Regions from separate parts of the Homo sapiens genome. Here all the other regions are linked to region 3. The links are contacts of gene promoters, found by promoter capture Hi-C in blood cells and fetal thymus (Javierre and others, 2016). All regions are on one chromosome and are shown on one strand. The core of a region is centred on a gene start or on the middle of the fragment in contact, and the rest is flanking DNA. Distances in the headings are between cores, read along the strand shown. Region 1 holds the start of ATP5MG (ATP synthase membrane subunit g). Region 2 holds the start of FXYD6 (FXYD domain containing ion transport regulator 6). Region 3 overlaps SCN4B (sodium voltage-gated channel beta subunit 4).

Region 1 (3,811 bases), core at 586-3,085, 260 kb before region 3:
CACTGCAACCTCCGCCTCCGGGGTTCAAGCGATTCTCCTGCCTCAGCCTCCCAAGTAGCTGCGATTACAGACATGCACCACCAAGCCTGCCTAATTTTTGTATTTTTTGTAGAGATGGGGTTTCACTATGTTGGCCAGGCTGGTCTCGAACTCCTGCCCTCAAGTGATCTGCCCGCCTTGGCCTCCCAAAGTGCTGAGATTACAGGCGTAAGCTACCGCCGCAGGGCCATCTCTTTTGATTTATATAAAATTGTAGAGCTCTATGACAGGTATCTTAACAATCTTAGTAAAGTAAAAGATTTTCTTGCAAGCTTATGAAATTATTTGGGAAAATGTGTAAAATGTTTCACTAGTAGGCTGTGAGGTTCTGCAGGACAGCCTTCAATAACTCATAGTTTGGCTGGTGATGGAGGGAAGGGAGGAGAGAATGGATAAATTACCCGGCTGGCGCTGTGGCTCACACCTGTAACTCTGGCACTTTAGGAGACCGAGGCGGGAGGATCCCTTGAGCCCAGGAGTTAAGAGACTAGCCTGGGCAACATGGTGAAATCCCGTCTCTTAAAACATACAAAAATTAGCTGGGTGTGGTGGTGCGTGCCTGTGATCCCAGCTACTCAGGAGGCTGAGGTGGGAGGATCGCTTGAGCCTAGGAGGTGGAGGCTGCAGTGAGCTGTGATCTGCACTGCACTCCAGCCTGGGCGACAGAGTGAGTCCCTGTCTTCTAGGAAAAAAAAAAAAAAAAAAGAAAGAAAGAAAAAGAAAATACCCAAACCAAACTCAAACACAGCAAAATAGGCTAGAAAGTATTACATTTTTTTTGAAGTTCTGCTTTCTATTCACATTTCATAAACGTAGGCAAAAGTTAAGAGATCCGACCTTCAGTCACTTACTGGAATACAGCACATCTAGGAAAAACTTACGTCAATTTAGCTTATCTCACTTCAGGAATAAAATGAATAGCTTGCCACTGAGAAGACAACTGAAATATTTACTGGCCAAATAAACTAGTACTCAGAGGCTGTGATTATTCAGGGTTGTTGTGAAATACAGCGGTCTACCAGTGAGGCTCTTCAAGCTGAAAAAATTCCACGAATGCTAAGCTTCGTAACAAAGATTATTGTTTATACGGATCCCGTCCTATGCTTCTCGGGGCATGGATACTCATCCATGAAGTCCATTTCCACCTAAAATTTCCCTCGGATTAAAGCGGAAGTATCTTAGAATCCGTCTAGGACAGAAAGCAAAGTCAACGTTCAAAAAAGCTCACCCATCCTTAAACATTTCTGTTGACTTCCAAATACTCCACTGAGAACAACACCACATGTAATGAGGCCGAATTGATTTACTTTCACGTTTCTGCCCTTCCTTTTCTTAGCTCTCCTAACAGAACCATCCCCTCTAGATCCCTGCTCTTAGCGATCTCAGGGGGCGTAATGGTTGCAGCTGCCGGGCAACGCCGGGCTTCCTTCACACTACCTCTCTTCCCAGTCGTGGTTAGAATTCAGGAACTTCTAGGTTGTGTAGAGAACCCAATCTGCAGGTCAGACGAGTGGAAGGCTAGAAAAGAGTCGCCAACCTGCTTCCTGCTCCCTCCACCTGCAGGCCATCCCGCCCCGGCACCCGCAGGCCCCTCGGGTCTTCGCAGCCCGCTTCTTCCTCTCAGGCCATCGCAGGCCTCCCTGCCGCCCGTGTGCCCGCCTCGGCGGTCTCACATCGCGCTCACCGTTCACCAGCGCCGGGGTCTTCTCCACAAGGTTACGGACAAATTGGGCCATGGTTCTGGAATGGAGAGTCCGTCGCCCCGAACCGCCGGCTGAATGTCACCCGCCGGAAGGACCCGCTGCAGGACCCCGTCCCACTTCCAAGGTCAGGCCGCCTCTTTTCGCGCCGGTCGAAGATACTTAAATGTCCAAAGATCTTTGCAGAATCCAGCCTGTCAATTTAATTTTTCAACATGGAAGAGAAAGTGGATATGAAAAGATGGTATTAGAGAGCATGTGAAGAACAGTAGGATTCCGCAGAGAAGCAGGCATTTTGTGGGGCAGCCACTCGTAGAGGTCCGGAAAACCGGCAAGGAGCGGAAATGCGCATGCGCCCTGAACCTGCAGTGCTTTTCTTGGCGCCGACCTCCGCTATTTTGCGTAGGGTGCTTTCGCCGCGATTCTGAGAACCTTTGAAGTCAGTACTGGAGAAGGATTCGCTGAGATTCTTCTAGTCCAACACGATCGTTGTACAGAGGTAGAGAGGGTCCAAGGCCAAACATATAAAGTTAGGGGCCGAGCAATCACCACACAGGCTGTCACCAGGCTCAACCCATAGCCCTTTTTATTTGAGACAGTCTCGCTCTGTCGCCCAGGCTGAAGTGCAGTGGCACGACTTCGGCTCACTGCAACCTCTGTCCCCCGGGTTCCAGCGATTGTTGTGCCTCAGTCTCCCTAGTAGATGGGACTACAGGCGCCCGCCACCACGCCTGGCTAATTTTTGTACTTTTAGTAGAGACGGTGTTTCACCATGTTGGCCAGGCTGGTCTCGAACTCCTAGCTTCAAGTGATCCACCCGCCTTGGTGCTGGGATTACAGGCGTGAATCACCGCGCCTGGCCCCATAGCCCTTTTAAAGTTGATTTTTTGTAATCCCAATCTCCCCAAAGTGCTGTATCACGATTGGAATCCATTTCCCCTAATTCCCTAGTTAACCACAAGGAGCTGTGCAGATGTGAGGAAAAAATCACCTGTATTGAACGCCCACACTATGCCAGGCATTTTGGAATTTAAAGAAAGCCTGTAAGGCATTGTCCCCATTGAGACTGGGCTTGAAAAATGGCCACACAGTTTGGAAGTGGCAGAGTTGAGATCTGAAGTTGCAATGTATACTCAGAGAGGGGGCATTCCATCAGATTAGGCATGGTGCTGATTTCAGCATACTTCCTAGAAAAGATCCTTGAGCCGATGTGTAAGAGAACAGCTGTATACTACAGAGGGCTGAAACTTCATAGTTTAATATGAGGAGGAAAAGATGTATGTAGGGAAGTGGCATTTGATGAGAGGAACAGAACTATAAGTAATGTAACCTGGGGAAGTCTGAGCAGAAGTAAATCTCCGATTTTTGGAATGGTTAGAGAGATGGAAAGAAAAATTAGAAGTGTAATCAAGGAACTAAGAACTTTTCAATGAAGGAGTGATTCTGCTGCCCTAGATACTGCAGAAAAGTCAAATTAAGGATGGGAAAGTTAATTTAGCAATATGGCAATCTTTAACTAACTAGCGCCTTTTCAAAAAATTAGGATAGAATCCAGGGTGAATGGTGAAGAAATATGGCTGTAAAGGATTACAAGTCAGAAAACCAAAGGGGGATGTGGAACTCAGGGGAGAAATTGAAGACAGAGAAGAGGCAGTCATTTATTTATTTAGAGATGGGGTCTTGCCACATTGCCCAGGCTGGCCTGAAACTCCTGGCCTCAAGAGATCATCCCACTTCAGCCTCTTGCTTAGCTCTGGGATTACAGGCACAGGCCATCCTGCCTGATAAAAAGGGATATTGACAAGAGCCCTGATGAGGCAGGAAAAGAGAACTAGCCAGGGATCTATGGGGCCTTTTCCACAGATGTGATTATGGGAGAGAGGTCTGAAAGTCTTCAAAGTCTCTGAAGTCTTTATCTTCCCAGCAAAATGAAGGCAAAGTCATCGGACTGTGAGGGGTCAATGGGAGGGGGGTATGAGAAGGAATTTGAGGAAGGAGGCCAAAGTTTGGAATAGCTGAAGGACACACAGAAGGGTTGTTGGGCAACGTTAGAGATAAGTTTGTGGTTGTAC
Region 2 (3,977 bases), core at 1,078-3,577, 260 kb after region 3:
TTCAGGGCTCTGAACTGTGTTTTAATTACACGTTTATTCATGGGAACATTTGCTAAATCTCTATCTCACCCAGGGACCACATCTTTCCTCTCCACAGTATATCCTCAGATCTTGGCCCAGGTCTCAGTGAAGAGTAGCTCCTCCTGTCCATACGTGGTTGAAAGAATGGAACAGCTGGCGACCTCTTTTTATGAATGCCCACATTTTTCACAGGGGGTAGATGTGTTTATTTTCCTGCTAGAAGGGAGATGTGACTCACCCCAGAACAAGCTTGCGTGCTGCTTTGTAGCTGTAACACCCCAAATTCTTCCAGCAGTACCCTTGGATGGAACGTGATGAAGCACTATTTGAGAGTTAAGCCATGGCGGTTTCTCATGCACATTTAGTTCCTGTTATCCCTCTGCAGCCTGGGCTGGTCAGCATTAGGTAGGGGGACCTGGGAAGTCACTGGGCCAAACACTTCAGAACTCTCTGGCTGGAAATGGGGTTGAACCAGAAGGTGGCTTGGCTTTGGAGTTCTGAACTATCCTTTCCCAAATAGGCTTGCAAAGCCTGGGCTTGACGTGTCATCACTAGTAGGTGCTCTAAAAAGCACAGAGAGATGGCCAAAAGGCAGGATTCAAGGGCATTTGGAGGGATGAATGTACCTGCCTAAGGACATGGGCCTAGAAAGGGATGTGGTTTTAAATCTGCCACCTAGAATACATGAAAAGGGAAAACGACAGTTGGAATGCTGTCCTCAGTTTATAGAGGAAAAGACAGGAACGGCAAAGGGTTAGGCACGCAAATAGGCAAGATTTGAGTCTGGCTTTGGAGAAGGAGCTTTAGCATTCACAGGAACCCCAGGGAGTTCAGGACTGGGCCAGAGTGGCATCCATTCAGCCAGGTCCCATGATTAAGGGGCCAGAACTATCCCCTGAGGGGAGGCTTTTTGGGTGCTCTTTCTCAGTAGCTATTTATGGTTCCCCTACTGGTTCCAAAGTCTTCTTGAGTTCATGTATATTTCCTGCCTTGGGGTTTTGAGACCTGACCTTTTATTAAAATAATTAGATCATCTAGGGCAGAGCTGGAAGAGACCTCAGGATCATCTAGTCCATCTCCCTATTTTCCCAAATGAGAAAACAGGCCCAGAACTGAGGGCAGCAGAGGCAGGGCTAGGTTTCTTCCTAGCAGTACCCATCATCCCCGGCTTGGGGTTTGTAAGGAACTCTCCGTGGCCCTACCTAGGCTTGGACAATCACAGCCTTTCTCAGTAGCTCCTCCCTCCACCCGGCTCGGCCATACACACACCTTGACTGAGGCTGGACAGCCTCCATCTCAGCATGGCTCCTGGCTACTGACACTTGTGCCTGGCCTCTGCCCCTTCCTACAAGCTCTGCCCCTAATAGTAAGAGCCAATTTCTTGAGCACTCACTATGAGCTAAGCCTCCCATGGGGTCAGTCTCTAATCACCATTTTCCCACGTGAGGAAATAGACTCAGGAGCTGAGTGCAGAGATATGCTCCAAGTCGCGTCACAGGCAGGGTTGCCGAGCCAGGATTTATTTACATCTTCACATTCAAAGTTCGTCATCATGAATTTTGACTCTTGGGGACTGGGCTGAGGACGGGGTGGTACTGCTCCTGGCAGGGCCAGAGGTGGATGGGGCTTGAAAAGGGGGTTCAAGGCAGCAGATCTATGGTTCAGGTAAGGACCATCCCCCCAGCTCCCCACCTGGCTCTAGCTGAAAATGACAACTACAACTGGAGCTGGCTCCTGCGCCCACGACACAGCCATTCATGCTTTTGGTGCACATTCCCCTTAATTACCAAGGCTCCCAATTAACGTGGGCTGCTGTGTCTGGTGCTGGGTTATTTTCTCCTATTTTTCCGTTCCTCGGGGTTTACTATTGCAGAGAGACACCAGGTCTGTCATTGTGCCTGTCTTGCTCCCTTCCCACCCTAACCAGAGGGAAACCGAAAAGCAACAGCTGATGGCAAATCCGCTCCGGCGCTTGCACGCCTCCTCGGCGGCAGTCTCCTGTTGCTTCTCGGAGCTTGACTGCCCTTTGGAAAAATCTCTCCGCCCCTCGAGAGGAGAGAGGAGCAGAGGACGCGCGCGAGCACAGAGCGGGAGGACGGACAGGGAGAGGAGGAGAGGGGGTCTGCGCGCGGCCGCTACCCAGAAGCCAGCGGACGGCAGCACGGAGTGGGCTGTCCCCGAGCCCAGCCCCGAGCGAGCCCCCCCCCCGCCCCCGCAGGACGCGCCTCCCAGCCAGCCCGACTCCTAGGAGGAGGGGAGGCGGGAAAGCAGCTCAAGCCTCACCCACCGCCCTGCCCCCAGCCCCGCCACTCCCAGGCTCCTCGGGACTCGGCGGGTCCTCCTGGGAGTCTCGGAGGGGACCGGCTGTGCAGGTAGGCGGCTGGGGAGGTGGGCAAAGTTGGCTCCTTTTTCCGAGGAGGGGCGAGGCTCGGTGGGGACCGATCTCTGGAGCGCCGGGAGCGCCGGGTTTTGTGTGTTCAGTGGGTGTGTGCGGTCCTCCGCGGTCAGCTGCGCCGCGGTCCCCGCCTGGGCAGCGGGAAACCGGGCTGGGGATGTAAACAAGGAGATCGGCGTCGGAAGAGAGAGGAGCCTCTAGGGGAGGCAGGCTGTGGCGCTGGGGGTGACGCTGGTGGCTGGGAATTGCTCTCGGTGCTGCCTTGAGCTTGGGGTCAGGGTTTTCAGGAGAAGGGGAAAGGGCTGCGCCCACCCTTTATCCATGAGGAGTTTTCCCTTTGTTACTTGGAAGCTGTGGACACTTGGTGGAGCGTGGGGAATTACGGACGAGGGCGTGTGGCTGGGTGTGAGTGTGGACTTATGAGCGACACAAAATGGAACTTGCTGGTTTGGTGCTTGGGGAAGGTGGGGCTGGGCAGTGGGCACAGGATGGGGGCGCAGGGAAAGAAGGATTCTAGCGCTCGGGGATTCATGAGAGTGCATCATTTTTTCCCTCCTTCTTGTCTTATCCATCCAATCCTGTTTCCTTTCCGGGGGGCCCTGGGGTCCGCCATTGCCCCCTTTCCCCAGCAGGGCTGGCCCTGGCAGAGCCTCCCCTATTGTGTCTCCCGGGCTTCCGTGGAGAGTTGGGTGTGCAGCCTGGAGCTCCCAGCGCTGGCTTCTGGCTCTTACAAGTGGTGGCTGGTAGAGGAGGCACCCGAGGGTGGGAGCTGGGAGCAGCCTCGCTGGAAACATGGGTCTGCCGCGTCACCTGCTGCAAGCCTGCACGCTCGCGGGACCGTGGCTACTGGAGGCTTCTCCCCACCAGTGTGCTCTCTGCCACTACTTCCTTTGTCTCTGTGGCTTCGTGCTGTCTGGCTGGGCTAAGATTTCCAGCTTTGAAGATGGATCAGTGGGCATCTCAGGCCCTCTCTGAAAGGAGCCCCCTTTGGGGATCCAGCCACCCTCATATTATGGATGTGTATGTCTACGTCCGCAACTTAGCCTTTTGCACGTGACTTGCCTGGTCGTTGCCATGGAAACTCCTCCATTTCTCAGCCTCCCTCTTTCTCCTGCCCATTCCTCACCTCCATATCTCCTCCCCTCCCCCCAGTATGGTTGCCTAGATACTGGTTATCCCTGGCTAGGAGACCTAGATATCTGGCTCCTACACCCAATTGCAGTGGCCCCTTACTCACACCACCCACTTCACACACACTGCACATCACCAACACCACAAACACATACAGACATATACCACACTACGCAATCAACACACCCTCACACTCACACCACACATACATATACATCATACCTATACACACATACACACCAAACACACCGCATATATACCGCACCACCACACACCAGCTACAATGCTACACTGACACCCTACATGCGCACTGTGCATGCACACACACACACACAGTACATCTAAATAAGTCTCAGGCTGGGCTGAGGCAGGGGAGAGAGAGGGCAGTTTCCTTCCTTATCCAGCCACCTCCCTAGGGGTGTGGAGGGGA
Region 3 (3,587 bases), core at 1,088-3,587:
TGAATCTTGCAAAACTAGAGCAGGGAAAAGGCATTTGAAAGTTGTGTTCTGAGCAAGACAGATGCGACGAGATGGCTTCCCATTGGAACAGAGAGGGTGATGGTAACCACGAGATGCAGAGAATGGAGAACTCCTCTGCCCCTATTTGCTGAAACATTCTGCTCTGCTGAGAAGAGGGAATTCTGCTGTAAAGGGCAGAACTTACTCTAGAAAGAGGGGATGGAAGTTGGAGGTAGGGAGGGGCCATACAGGTAGCAGCGCTGGGGCTGGGGAGCAGGGGAGGACCCCAGAACTGGGTTGTCGATGAAGAGCTCAAGGGTTGTCTGCCTGCCTTGTGGCCAGAGGCTGTGAGGGTTTTGGTGATCGTGAGAGGGGCTAAAAGCGTGGAGCTTAATTAGGTTCTGTTTTTCATAACCAGTCTTACTATCAATGGATGGAGAACAAATTTGTCAATATATGGTTTAAAAGCACTTAGAAAAGACAACGGTGGTCCTTCAGAGCCACAGTGGGTTCATCAAAAACAAGACATGCTAAGCTGGATGTGTGTGCCTGAAGTCCCAGCTCCCTGGGGGGCTGAGGCAGGAGGATGCTTTGAGCCCAGGAGTTTGAGTCCAGCCTGGGCAACTTAGCAAGAGCTCGTCTCTTAAAAAAAAAAAGAAAAAAGAAAAAAAAAAAAGGAATGCTAGATGTCTCCTGATAAGGCACTGGCAGAACAGGAGATTGCTCTGGAAAATACCACTTCCTGTCATTCATCAAATGCCTACCATATGTTAGGAATTCCACCAGGCAATTTTATACACTACCCATAATTATTATTTTACAATTGAGCAAAGTGAGGCTCAGAGTAGTGAAGTGACTTGCCCAAGGCCACACAGCTAGTAAGTGATAGAGCTGGGATTTGAACTGTGACTAATTTGGCTTCAAAGCTTAAACCATTGCCAGGATGTTCTACTGACTCACTGGGCATATCTAGAGTTCATTCATTTATCTGTTCATTTTGTGGCTGTTTTTGAGGCACTGTGCCAGATGCTATAGGAAATTATGGAAGGAATGAGATTCTGCCTTTAACTAAAGAAGACAAGATACAAATAAATGTGTATACAAATAAATGTAATACAAGGTAGAGGGGATCAGTGCCAGCAAAGAGGTTTGATACGATGCTGCTGTGGGGGTTCAGGGCAGGGTGAAATTCTGGGAAGGATTTCTGGCTGAATGGGTGTTTGTGGCAGGCCTTGCAAGATTAATATAACTTAAGCCCTGGGGAGAGTAAAGGGAAGATTCTTCCAGATGGAGGCACCACTGAGAGCCAAGGCAGAGAGTCTGGGAAGTGGGCTTGTCTGGAGAACAAGCCTTTTGTTTGTTGAGAGAGCTGTATGGTGAGGTGGTGGGGAGGAGAATAAAAGCCTGCAGAAGGGGTTGGGGACAGACACTTGGGGACCTGGGAGTCGAGGCTGTGATTGACTTCCGACGGCAGGGGAGCTGGCGAGGGCTTGCAGGGCCCTGGCACGATCAGAGAGCACAGAAGAAAGGATCTGGCCATGGTGGGCGGAGGGATTGGGTGGAAGAGCCTGGGGGCAGGGGACAGACCGTAGGGAAGCCTGAGGGAGGTCCTTGGAGTGGCGGGGAATGCCTGCATTACAGCAGAGACAGTGGCTTCTCAAGAACAGGGAGGTACTGGACAACATCTCACCATTGATTCTGAAACGTGGGTGCTGTTTCCTCTGTCTGGAATTTACCCTCTCTCTTTTCCTGCTCATCTTTCTTGGTTTCAAAGAAGCTTGGAAGTTTAAGGTATACTTCCAAAAAGCTTCCCTGACTCCTATGAGGAGGCTTCCTAGGTTGGGTCCCTCCTTCCTACATCCCCCATCCTGTTATTTACCACAGTGTGTCACAATCACTTGTTTAATGTCACATGCCCTAGGAGAGTGCACGTTTCCGACACAGTGCCTGGTACCCAGTAGGTTCTCAGTAGAGAATTATGGACTGCGTGGAATACAGTTCGGTGGGTCGTAATTGGCTGGGTTAACTATGCCTTAGGTACAGAGACAGAAAGAAAGAAAGAGAGAGAGACAGAGAGAGAGAGATGGATCCATCCGAATAGAGGTCTTTAGTGTATTCCACAGGGCTCCACCTGTTCATTGTTATTACTAACATTTGAAGTACACTAGGGATGTCACATTTATCAACTTCCAGAAGCCTAGTAACTATGTTGGAAGAAAAAGGGATCTAGGAAGATCTTGATAGGCTGGAGCTAGGAACTAGGTATTGCAAGATGAAATTAATGAGGACAAAATATTCAGTCCTTCCCAAAGGCCTCAAACCCAGCTGCCCAAGCCCAGGGTGAGGGTAGGATGTAGTTTGGCTGTAGCAGCTGTGAAAAACTTGGCCATTTTCATGAGCAGAAAGCTCAGAGGGATGCAGGTGCTCCCTGGGGAGTTCTGTGTGCCCAGCCTGGGCGCTGCTGTGGAGGAGGGACACACTGAAGTTGGAGCATGTCCAGCTCAGAGCGGTCAGGGTGGAACGCCTCCCGGGAGGTGTCTTCCCATCTCACCATCTCTCCTTCCTCCTGTCTTCTGCTCCGTCCCACCAAACTCTGCCTAGACCTGTCACCCTTGAAGCCAAACCCACTGCCTGCTCTGCCCCTTCCATGGACTCTGTTCTTCCCTTAATACCTCTAGTCACGGAGAGCTCAGGGAGGAAGGCCTGGGGGGCCCTGGGGAGAGGGACTCTGTGTCCTCAGCATACTCCTTGCTGGCCTGGACCCCTCCCCCTGGCGTGGCACAGCCTGGGAACTGACCCCTGAGAACAGCACCTGGTGCCCTTTGCTTCCTGCCATGTTGAGACAACTAGGTGACAGCTAAGCTTTATTGAGAACTTTCTTTTTTTCTTTGTTTGAGACAGAGTCTCGCTCTGTTGCCCAGGCTGGAGTGCAGTGGCACGATCTCAGCTCACTGCAACCTCCGCCTCCCAGGTTCAAGCGATTCTCCTGCCTCAGCCTCCCTAGTAGCTGGGACTATAGGCGCCTGCCACCACGCCTGGCTAATTTTTGTATTTTTAGTAGAGATGGGGTTTTGCCATGTTGGCCAGGCTGGTCTCGAACTCCTGACCTCAAGTGATCTGCCTGCCTCGGCCTCCCAAAGTGCTGGGATTACAGGTGTGAGCCACCGCACCTGGCCAGTTGAGAACTTTCTACATGGCAGGCACTGTTCTAAGTGCTCATTTCTCCTTCCAGCAACCCCACGCAGAAGGTCATCCCTACCTCTATTTCACAAATGAGGGGACTGAGGTACAGAGAGGTTAGGTGACATGGCCTCTGGCTACCTTAGCTCTGTAGAAGGCCAGGGAGAGGCACAGGGCTGGGTGCAGGGCCCACGGCTCCTGCCACAATTCTCCCCCTACTCTTGCTCCTCTCCTCACCACTGTCCCTTCTCTCTCCCTCTCCAGGAAGGAGTGTCTCGTGAGCTCCTCGGGGAATGACAACACGGAGAACGGCTTGCCTGGCTCCAAGGCAGAGGAGAAACCACCTTCAAAAGTGTGAGCCCTGCTTCGGGCTGAGCAGCTGCAGGGAGCCCCCTTTCTGATGATGA

What was found. The method cuts DNA at HindIII sites, captures the fragments that hold promoters and counts their contacts. A CHiCAGO score of 5 or more calls a contact.
Region 1: a contact is called between the fragment with the promoter of ATP5MG here and a fragment that was not itself captured in region 3, in 1 of 17 cell types (neutrophils). The highest score is 5.3, in neutrophils.
Region 2: a contact is called between the fragment with the promoter of FXYD6 here and a fragment that was not itself captured in region 3, in 3 of 17 cell types (naive CD4 T cells, activated CD4 T cells and naive CD8 T cells). The highest score is 5.8, in naive CD4 T cells.

What each region holds. Positions count from the first base shown.
Region 1 is chr11:118,399,630-118,403,440 of GRCh38, reverse strand. ATP5MG (ATP synthase membrane subunit g) reads right to left here and starts at 1,835. Exons shown (of 3, transcript NM_006476.5): 1 at 1,724-1,835. The coding sequence starts at 1,775. The region is part of intron 3 of LOC100131626 (a long non-coding RNA gene); the gene reads left to right. RefSeq lists enhancers at 62-652, 1,111-1,974, 2,095-2,174. The HindIII fragment of the contact is 3,431 bases long and covers 1,103-3,811 here.
Region 2 is chr11:117,875,008-117,878,984 of GRCh38, reverse strand. It overlaps FXYD6 (FXYD domain containing ion transport regulator 6), which reads left to right and starts at 2,327. Exons shown (of 8, transcript NM_022003.4): 1 at 2,327-2,393. FXYD6-FXYD2 (FXYD6-FXYD2 readthrough) reads left to right here and starts at 2,327. Exons shown (of 10, transcript NM_001243598.4): 1 at 2,327-2,393. The HindIII fragment of the contact is 14,206 bases long and covers 273-3,977 here.
Region 3 is chr11:118,136,978-118,140,564 of GRCh38, reverse strand. SCN4B (sodium voltage-gated channel beta subunit 4) reads left to right here. Exons shown (of 5, transcript NM_174934.4): 5 at 3,445-3,587. The coding sequence ends at 3,538. Among named protein-coding and RNA genes, the nearest start is that of SCN4B, 14 kb to the left of the region's middle. The HindIII fragment of the contact is 1,055 bases long and covers 1,810-2,864 here.